3 separate regions of the Homo sapiens genome follow, and all the other regions are linked to region 2. The links are contacts of gene promoters, found by promoter capture Hi-C in blood cells and fetal thymus (Javierre and others, 2016). All regions are on one chromosome and are shown on one strand. The core of a region is centred on a gene start or on the middle of the fragment in contact, and the rest is flanking DNA. Distances in the headings are between cores, read along the strand shown. Region 1 overlaps CHEK1 (checkpoint kinase 1). Region 2 holds the start of SIAE (sialic acid acetylesterase). Region 3 has its middle 33 kb from the start of OR10G7.

What was found. The method cuts DNA at HindIII sites, captures the fragments that hold promoters and counts their contacts. A CHiCAGO score of 5 or more calls a contact.
Region 1: a fragment that was not itself captured here is called in contact with the fragment with the promoter of SIAE in region 2 in 1 of 17 cell types (total CD8 T cells); the score reaches 5.5 in total CD8 T cells.
Region 3: a contact is called between a fragment that was not itself captured here and the fragment with the promoter of SIAE in region 2, in 1 of 17 cell types (total B cells). The highest score is 6.4, in total B cells.

What each region holds. Positions count from the first base shown.
Region 1 is chr11:125,626,307-125,629,859 of GRCh38, forward strand. CHEK1 (checkpoint kinase 1) reads left to right here. Exons shown (of 13, transcript NM_001114122.3): 2 at 443-527; 3 at 1,301-1,524; 4 at 2,926-2,990; 5 at 3,085-3,154. The coding sequence starts at 463. Among named protein-coding and RNA genes, the nearest start is that of CHEK1, 2.9 kb to the left of the region's middle. RefSeq lists enhancers at 349-892, 453-502. The HindIII fragment of the contact is 1,976 bases long and covers 874-2,849 here.
Region 2 is chr11:124,672,392-124,675,710 of GRCh38, forward strand. SIAE (sialic acid acetylesterase) reads right to left here and starts at 1,348. Exons shown (of 10, transcript NM_170601.5): 1 at 1,251-1,348. The coding sequence starts at 1,317. SPA17 (sperm autoantigenic protein 17) reads left to right here and starts at 1,513. Exons shown (of 5, transcript NM_017425.4): 1 at 1,513-1,561; 2 at 2,847-3,027. The coding sequence starts at 2,874. LOC124902780 (a long non-coding RNA gene) reads left to right here and starts at 3,034. Exons shown (of 2, transcript XR_007062933.1): 1 at 3,034-3,171; 2 at 3,275-3,319. RefSeq lists silencers at 1,284-1,403, 1,376-1,534 and an enhancer at 1,444-1,623. The HindIII fragment of the contact is 8,074 bases long and covers 1-3,030 here.
Region 3 is chr11:124,072,562-124,075,806 of GRCh38, forward strand. No RefSeq gene overlaps it. Among named protein-coding and RNA genes, the nearest start is that of OR10G7, 33 kb to the left of the region's middle. The HindIII fragment of the contact is 348 bases long and covers 1,107-1,454 here.

The DNA.
Region 1 (3,553 bases), core at 612-3,111, 950 kb after region 2:
TGGGGCTGTGGATGGGGATGGGAATTGGAATTGAGCAATTGGGAGGAGGCGCTGCCGCAGGCGTTTTCTGCCCCATACCGCTCCCTATATCCTCTTCCTCTCTTCCCCAGACCCCCACCTCTCCCTCCTCCTTCCCCAGTCGTTCGCCGGAAAGCATTTGTCTCCCACCTCTTCATAACAACAATTAATTTCCTCTGGGGCCTGAGGAGGGCAGAATTTCAACCTTCGGTGTGCTTGGGAGTGGCGATTGTGATTTACACGACAAAATGGTCAGGTTTAGAATAGTTGTTCGTGGTTGAAAGACTTGGATAAATGTGGATGAGATAGAAGGGGAAGGCAAGAGCTGTTAATTTTCGTGGGCAATCCTGGGGAGAGGCGGGGCTCAGTGGCTTCACTGGTGATCTTACACTCTACATCTTTTCTGGATTCCTGCCTTTTACAGCCGAGGTGCTCGGTGGAGTCATGGCAGTGCCCTTTGTGGAAGACTGGGACTTGGTGCAAACCCTGGGAGAAGGTGCCTATGGAGAGTGAGTTCTTTTAAGCTTGCCTTCGTTTTCTGAGTGCATATTCATTGTTTTGGAGTCTCACACTCTGGTGATTTAGAAAGTAGATGTTTGAGATCCAAGGGTTTTGGCAACTGAAGTTACACAGCCTTTTGCTAGGATTAAAAATTTTTTCCTTCCCTTTAAAAAAAAAAGTTTTCTTTGTAGAGAGCTGGAAGGGACACGAAGTTATTGTTTCCATGCCCACAAATTGCTTCTCAGGGTTTAAGCATTGCGGTTAATGAGCAAATGAGCAGACTCTGGAGATTGCCTGCCTGGTTTCAGATCCTTGCTCTATCACATACTGGTCATTGTTTTGTGATCTTAGGCAAGCTTCTTAATGTCATTGTGTACCTCTCCTTCACTACCTTTAGGGTGGCAATAATCGCATCTACCCCATAGGAGCTTAGGACAGTCAGTTACACAAGCACATATAGTATGGGATTAATGCTCTTAAAAGTATATGAGTAGAACATGTATATATGTGATGTGGCTTAGAATTATCTCAATCTATTTTATGAAGCGTTTATTAAATGACTTGTGTGACAGCATAATGACGTCTTTGGAGGGTTAGCTATTGTATTTCACATTTTAGAAAAGAGTAGTGTGTGTTGAGAACATAGCAGAAACCACTTCCTTGGTTTCTCCTTTGTGGAAAAAGTAATAGAGGTAAAATCGTTTTGGATGAGTCATGTTTAATCTTTGGAAGTTTTAGAAGAAATGGAATTCTGTAATGTTAAAACTCTTTTCCTTTTTAGAGTTCAACTTGCTGTGAATAGAGTAACTGAAGAAGCAGTCGCAGTGAAGATTGTAGATATGAAGCGTGCCGTAGACTGTCCAGAAAATATTAAGAAAGAGATCTGTATCAATAAAATGCTAAATCATGAAAATGTAGTAAAATTCTATGGTCACAGGAGAGAAGGCAATATCCAATATTTATTTCTGGAGTACTGTAGTGGAGGAGAGCTTTTTGACAGAATAGGTATGGAAGAAATTTAAGATAATTATTTTAAACAAGTTTTTAAATTTGTTTTTTAAATCTTGGGCATGCTATTTGGTCGTTGTCCTTTCAAAATTGCTCATGCAACTGTGAAATTGGAATACATTATCTTTAAAAAATTTTTCCACCTGGTGTTAATAACATAAAAGCATATATAGAGTCAATGAAAGAAAACTTCTTTCCCAAGTTATATAAGTGATTTTGATTTAAGATTGGTGTCTTACAGAATTTAAGAGTGACAAACAAGTTTTATGGTACATCATAAATGCAGTGTATCCTAAATGCAATGTATTGCCTACACAATTTTTTCTTTGTAGACATTCTAGTTACATGAAATCATTGTATACATTTTATACATTTACAGATCTAAAATAGCATGCTGTTTCCTCTTGGTTTACATGAAATAATTGAGAATTTTCTAGGATTGCTTTTTGTATATTAAGTAAATTCTATGTTTGCTATTAATACTTAAATATTCGATGTAGAATCAAAGGATTGATATTTCAGAACACTGAGAAGTACATAAAATCTGGATCTAAATTTATAATTTAAATTTATAATTTAAAGCTATTGTATTAAATAAGTTTATCAGTTAAAAACTGATAAAGAGGTATTAGGATCTCCAGTGTGACTCAGGAGAGAGTTGAGGGTAAAAGAAATGGAGTTAATGAGAGAGATCAAAATATAAAAAGATAACTGATAAAAGAACTTTCATAATAAAACTGTTTCACGAAGGACCTCACAGGCATTTGTGGTTTTGTACTGTGAGACTATATGAAGTTTAAATCTGAGCCAGGTGTGGTGGTACATGCCTGCAATCCTAGCTACTTAGGAGGCAGGAGGATTGCTTGAGCTCAAGAGTTCCAGGTTACAGTAAGTTATGATCTCACGCCAGGGCACTCCAGCCTGGGTGAAAGAACAAGACCGTATCTCTAAAAAAAGTTAAATTATAAAAGAAGTATAATCTGTAAAATATTTAGTGAAATTGGCTTAGATTTGCCCAGACTTCCCCTTTGGCATTATATTTCAGGAATGAGAAAAATAATTAGCATAGCATTTAGAAGAAATGGGGGGAATTTCAAGGTTACTAAATAAATCAGGGTTAGTATAAGAGGAAGCAGAGGCTTTGAAGTCATGGCTTGCATTCTTGATTTGGATATTGGTTTTCTCTTTATAATTTTTCTGTGATGACGCCTTTTGCCACCTAACACAGGTAAATGTGAGTTAAGCCCCATATGTGTTAGTGGACTCCTGAATCTTTTGTTGGCATTTGCTTCTGTTTGCCTAAGCACATTTGTAAATGTCTAAGCTTCAAATTAAGAAGCTATGTGGTTGCTACCTGATTATATTTAGTCAATAAACTTACTTTCATATTTGTTTTAGAGCCAGACATAGGCATGCCTGAACCAGATGCTCAGAGATTCTTCCATCAACTCATGGCAGGGGTGGTAGGTATAGTTGTCTATTTCCCTTTTACTTAAAATTAGAGTGAATACATTACATTACCAAATTCTAGTGTGTTTCTCTCTGCATCCCTCTTAGGTTTATCTGCATGGTATTGGAATAACTCACAGGGATATTAAACCAGAAAATCTTCTGTTGGATGAAAGGGGTAAGTTTAGCATTTTATCACTACCTAAAATAAAATAAAATAATTACCTAAATTATTTTAATTACCTAATTATTTTAATATAGCCATACAAGGCAAAATCAAGTCTTTTTGCATTACTGGAATTTCAAGACAAGATCTGAAAAATCAAGGAAATTTTGGAGACTTCGTATATTTGGAAATCACAAGTCTCATTTTGCAATACAAGTGCGGATCAGGTAGAGAAATCTGACCTAGGTGCAAGCCTAGCTCACTATATGTATAAGAATAATTTTTTTTTTTTTGATACAGGCTCACTGTGTTGTCCAGTCTGGGGTGCACTGTATTATCACAGTTCACTGCAGCCTTGACCTCCTAGGCTCAAGCAATCCTACCATCTCAGCTTCCCGAGTAGCTAGGACC
Region 2 (3,319 bases), core at 98-2,597:
ATGGGTGTTCATTTTATTGTGTCATTGTTACATATAATTTTGTACATCTCAAGCATTACATGGTAAACATGGGCACAGGGAGAATGACTTAAAGGAAAAACGTCAGGATACGCAACCAAGTAGAGTACTAATGAATGAAAAATGTGATCAATGTTAATGAAGGTGATGTAACAATAAGACCCAAAGGAGGAGATAAAATACTGACACTAAAATAAACAGCCTTTAACTGAAAACCTAATAAAATATCTTTTCCCCACCTCATAAGATGGATCTCAAAGGTCACTGAGTGGAGATAAGAGTCAGGAAATGGCATACAGAGTGCTAGCATTTTGCACTTTTGTTAGACTCTGAACAATCATTTATGGGCTGCAGTTTGTCTGAATCTAGGTACTTTTCCGGCTCTCAGGTAGAGCAGGAGTCATTTTTCTGCACGCTGTTCTCCTACCCCAACTATCATTTCTTAACAGGGATCTCTGGGGTCCACTCTTTGAGTGTTTTGAAACAGAAAGGAAGAAATCCAACATTATCACTTTAGTTTGCATTATCAGACAGATTGCACCTTCTGCTTTCTCCATACTGTGACCCAGTGTCCAGCCTAGGGTATTCGAATGGCAAGATCTGACCTGCGCAACAGCCAAAGGGAGCCACCAGCCTCCCCTATGCCACTCACATTTTCCCACCACCAATATCTGTAAGCGGTACCAGAAATCAAAACTGAGCCTTAAATAGTCAGAGCTAGTGAGGGGGTTGTATTTCTTAGCCCTGATAACCACTTAAACGAGTAAAATTTAATTCCCCTAAGGAACCCCGCCTGAAGCAAACCCTCCCCAAGGGCACCACTGAGGGGGTAGCGCTGAAATGTTTTGGAAGATTCAGTCACCTGTTTCCAAATATTACCTAACTAGCTTCGCCTCCTTCCCTCCGAGCTCCCCTGCAGTTACTCCAGGACCCCGAAGGCCTCTTTCTGGGCACATTTGGGCCTCCCCACTCAGACAAGCCGCACTTTCTCCCTGCTCACAGGCTGCATGTCAGGGATGGTAAGTGGGGGGTGGAGAAAGTGGAGAGGCCGGGGTTCAACCCAGCAGACTCCTGCAGACCGGGCCTCGGTCGGAGACGCGAGCCCCTAGCCTAGCTAGGTTCCTTCGTCGACCTTGAGAAAGGGGCGCGGATCCGTGTCCCGCAGAGGACACGGGGTCTCGGAGCCCGCACAGGCTGAGGGGCAGGGGTCCGGCCGAGCCGGGCCGCCTCACCTGCACTTCTGTCGGCCCACAGGATTAATGGCAGCACCAGCCCGAGTACAAGCCCCGGCGCGACCATGCTTGCAAGGATCTGACCGCCGCCTAGGACTGGGAAAGTGGGTTCCCGGCAGGGGCGGGGCCTGGGCGGGGGCGAGGCCGACTCCACCCTTTTGCAGTCCTCGCAGCCTCCCGCGACCTCAGGACTGGGCTGTACTCGCCCCTTCTCGGCCGCCGTAGTTTTTTTTTTTTTTTAAAGAAAAAACGGTTACCCAGCAACTAGAAAAACAACCGGAACCGGCGGCACCAGCTCGGAGAGAAAGGAGGTGAGGCCGCTTCCCCACTTCCTCTCCGATACCAAGACCTAGCCTTTTCCCTTCGTCTCTCTTATTCTCTCAGCATCCCAGACACAGCCTCGGAGCCCTGGGCCGTTTGGGAGCCGAGGCAGCCCATTCTGCGCGAGTCTGAAATCCCAGGTCCTCAACATCCCGCCCCCGACTAGACCCGTCTGCCCCCTCCGCCCGCCCTCCTCTGCCCACATTGGTTCAGAATCTCGCCAGCTCTTTTCACCACTCTAGAATGGTTCGATACCCCCATCTACTGCTCCCTCAGAAAAAGCAAAAGAGAGGAGTCAGGCGTGGTGGCGCGCGCCTGTAATCCCAATTGCTCGGGAGGCTGAGGCGGGATCATCGCTGGAGCCCAGGAGTTCGAGGCCAGAGACCCCCTCTCAAAGAAAAAAAAAGCGATGAAACGAGAACCCTCCATAGTCTGAGCCTCATTAAACCGTCCAGTTCTCCCAACCTGGACCCCTACCACGGCCTCCGCCTCTATTCCGCATTGACGCACACTCTCACATTAACAGGCCAGGTCCCGGAGGATTCTTTTCATACTCAGTAGTAGCTCAGCCCGCTGCTTAGCAGCTACCCTTAATCTAGCCCTTGTATTTCAAGACAGAAAGAGACAACCTGATCAAGAAGAAACCGAAAAATATAAGAATTCTAAAACTTTAGAGGCTGGGATTTCAAAATCATGACACACAGCCCCATCCCATCCCATCCCTCCCTCACACACACGCACGCACAACCCCATTCCACAGTACGAAGGTGTTCGAAGCATTGTGGGTCATGCTTCAGAAGTGGCAGCAAGGGGAAAGATTGTGCAACTTCTTCATTCAACAAATTAATTTCTAGAACCAGGACTAATTTCTACTCTTTAAAAAAAAATAGACCTCAAAGAAGGTCTTCTCAGCAATTGACAATGAATTTAACTTTTTAGCAATCATTCTCTCTAAATTCCTGTGTGATAGCAAAAATTACCCTTACCTTTTGAGCATATAAAGGGTAAAGAGAGAAAAAGTCATATTGAAAATTATGGGTTTTTTGCAGGATTTTAAATGATTTGGCCTAGTGAATGGGTCTGTGTTTGTATTATACTAATTCACAATGGAGATTTCAAAACTCTTTGGAAGAAATGGATGGGCTTGGGTTGTGTTAGGGAAAAAAGAATTCAAGTCCAGATGTATGAGTCTCAGAAATAATTTGTTGGCATAGTTGTGATTATATAAGTAAAATCAGACAAATTTAAAGACAGTACTCTTTAATGAATCTTTAGGTTCCATAGGCAGTTCTTACCAAGAAGATGTCGATTCCATTCTCCAACACCCACTACCGAATTCCACAAGGATTTGGGAATCTTCTTGAAGGGCTGACACGCGAGATTCTGAGAGAGCAACCGGACAATATACCAGCTTTTGCAGCAGCCTATTTTGAGAGCCTTCTAGAGAAAAGAGAGAGTAAGCTTTCTAAAATTAGTCATTTTTTAAAATAAGAAACTAAGCATTTGTTTATGGTAAAACTTGCTTAAGACCATCTCCATTCTGCAGAAAGCCTTTTATGAGGCAGGGAGTTTCAGATAACAGTTCTTGCTCTTTGAAACAGTATGTACCTCTTTGATATGTTCTCTTAAATTCGTTTCATATTATCGAAGATTACCAGTTCATTATTCAGACCGTCTTCATTGTATTTCTCACGGACATACAGCGTGGAAGGTAACTGCAAAAGAGCATACATTTCTCGGGAGAAATC
Region 3 (3,245 bases), core at 31-2,530, 600 kb before region 2:
TCACCGTGTTGGCCAGGCTGATCTTGATCTCCTGACCTCATGATCTGCCCGCCTCGGCCTCCCAAAATGCTGGGATTACAGGCGTGAGCCACTGCTTGCGGCCTCCTTTTTCTTTCTTCTATTTTCCCATAACTCATACATATTTTTGTTTCATTTTGCTTTACCTAAAAGATCTCTGACGTATATCTTTTCCTTTCTTCTCCAAATCAAAAACGCTAAGTAAACTTGAAACTGATAGAGGTAAGAAACAACTTACTTTCTCCTCCATTTTAATTCCTGGTTGCAAGTAAAAACATCCTATTATATTCCTCATTTTGCATTTGTTAAAATTCCTCCTGCGCTTTTCACTATTTTCAAAGTTTTAAGTTTCTTTCTGTGAAAACTTGCTTATCTCCAGATCTTAGTCTTAAGATTTTTTGCCTTTTTTATTAACAATTGCTACCAATTAGGAATCTCAGAAAAATGAAAGAGAAAAGATTTCCCCTTCCCGTAACACCATAGCAGTAAATAGCATTTGGAATTGTCAGAACCTTTTTGATAAAATGATGTAGGAAAACATTCACAAAACTATGGGCCTTGAGAAAATGTACGGTGTTGCACTTCTTTTCTTTATAATTTTTATAAAATCGTCCCCTTGAACTTTCCTTAATAATGCAAACTTTTAGGACACTCACCTTGATTGGAAAAATTGTTCTACGTCCTCTAAAATGTAATGCTTCATCTCTAAAATATGTTTTGCTATCTGGTTGTTTTAGTTAATAATATGTTACCTTAGTTTCAGTTTTTACACATAAATTTCTATTTTTCTGAAACTATAAATACTCCAAAGAATTCTTTTAGACAGAACTATTTTCCTCTTCTTGGAACTACCTTTGCAAAGATTAGAACACTAGCCGCAGCTACTCAGGAGACTGAACAGGAGAACCGGGAGCTTGAACCGGGAACCAGAGGTTGCAGTGAGCCGAGATCGCACCACTGGACTCCAGCCTGGTGACAGAGTGAGTCTCCATCTCCAAAGAAAAAGAAAAGAAAAAAAGAAAATGATGGCAGTGAAATACATCTGATCTAATGAGCCTGATGGAGGGCAGGAAAGCCCCAAAATTGAAAGCTTAATCCCAAACTTATGACCATCAGAAAAATTTTTAACAAGTAATATAAAAAGGTTTTCCTTTCACAGTGATGTAAAAATAATCTGGGAAAAGACATAAGAATATAACTATGTTCCTTTGCGTTTATAAAGCAGGGAAATAACCAAGATTATACACATATGAATGAACCATACATATGAAATAAGTGTCTTAGTTGAGATGATAGTTTAAAGTGATTGTTCATTAATGTAAACTCTTAAAGAAAAATATTTCTATTAATGGGTTAAGAATAATTTGACTTATTCATAAAATGAATTTTTATAGTCATTCAAGTTGAGGCAGCTATCTGTTACTGATGTGAGAAAAAGCTTTAGGGAATAGGAAAATTAGAGTATAGTATCATAGCTATAATGTTATTTACTTGTGTAAATTTGTGTGTGTAGCATATGCGTGTGTCTTTGGTGGAAAGATGATCACCAAATTGTTGAGTGGTTATTGCTCGATAGATTTCAGTAGATTAAAAACAATTATTGTTTGTATTTTTCTTTATTGATAGTATCTTTACAAATTCAACATTAGCACATTTCAATATAAAACATTAAATTGTTTTATCAGAAAAGGGTCACAATCCAGACCCCAAGAGAGGGTTCTTGAATCTTGTGCAAAAAACAATTCAGGACAAATACACAGAGTAAAGCAAAAGCAAGTTTATTAGGAAAGTAAAGGAATGAAAGAATGGCCACTCCATAGGCAGAGCAGGACATTCCCAAAAGCAAAAGGAAGAATTACGTCCACCTTAGGTACAATGCTTGTTTATATATAAGAAACAAAGCAAAACAATTGTGGGGAAGGTCTACTGTTAGGGGATCTTTGGGGTGTCACTTTTCTGACCGGAAACATCTGTGACCAGTGGCGCCTTTGCTTGAGATTTGGTGGGGCCCACTGGGCTCATTCTGCCTACTTGGCCTTGCAGGCTGTGCTTGGCTGACGCTACTGGCCTTGATCCCATGTCTCCCAAGGGCGAGTAAGGTGGGAGCGGTGAAGGGTATGTGAGCAAGTGTGAGGTCTGGCCACTGCACACAGTCAGACAGGCTGGTTGCTGCAGTGGGGTGGGCAGCTCCAAGTGCCGGCATGGGTGCTGGTTCTTTGCAAGGCTGTGGCCAGACCAGGTGCACTGCAAGCAGCTTCCACAGCTGGCACTGGGGACCATGGTGGTGCCTGGAAGCTTGGAGATTGCAGGGCCCCAAAGAGGGAGTCACAGCCCTGTGGGGGAGCTCCCAGGTCTGGGATCCCCAAAGGGCCACAGCTCTTCTTTCCTTCTCTTCACCTGCAATGTAGGGAGCAAGCAAGGGGCATGTCTCAGCCCTGTTTGTGTTACAGCTCTTTTAGCTTTGCCATTCGTTGGGTCACGAGTTCTTGTCCTGTGACTAGGAAAAGTGAGTTATGCAGACAAGTGGAGGGTGAGTAAGAGGAAGAAGAGCTTTATTGAGCTATAGAACAGCTCAGAGGGGACCTGCAGTGGGGAGCTTCTTTCTGCAGCCGGAGTGTCCTGACAAGTGTTCAGCTCCTAGGGAGCGGGTAGTTCCTCTCTGCTAGAGGTCATCTCAACAAGTGTTGAGGGTAGCTCCTCTCTGCTGCGGGTCCTCCCATTGTCTGCAGCTCTAAGCAGAGAAGAGGCCCTAGAGTGGTGGCTCCTCTCTGCAGCAGGTCATCCCATTGCCTCTGCAGCTCTCAGCAGAGAGTGTAACTCCTCTCTGCTGCTGATCATCCTGTCACCTCTCCATCCTCTGATCTACCCTGCTGTAGCTGATCCCAGGGCTTTTATGGACCTCAGAGGAGAGGAAGTGTGTGCCAGTTGGTCCATGGGTGGCCATGGGCAGGTCTGGAAAAGGCACCACAAGACCCCACTCCACCAGCAGCCTGGCCCCTAGCCTTCGGACCCTCCCTGGGGGACCTGACCCCTTCCACCCAGGAGTCTGTCTGCCTCCTGACACTGTCCATGCCGCCCAGGCTGCTAGCCCCCAGGGGCACCTGCAGGCCAGCACCTAGCTGCCCTCAGCCCCCCACCACTCAGCTTCCCCCGTACCCAGCCTTTGTGCTCCTGGATGCTCAAAGTCTGGAGGGGGCCGAGGCAGCAGGGGGCTGGTGTATCAGTGC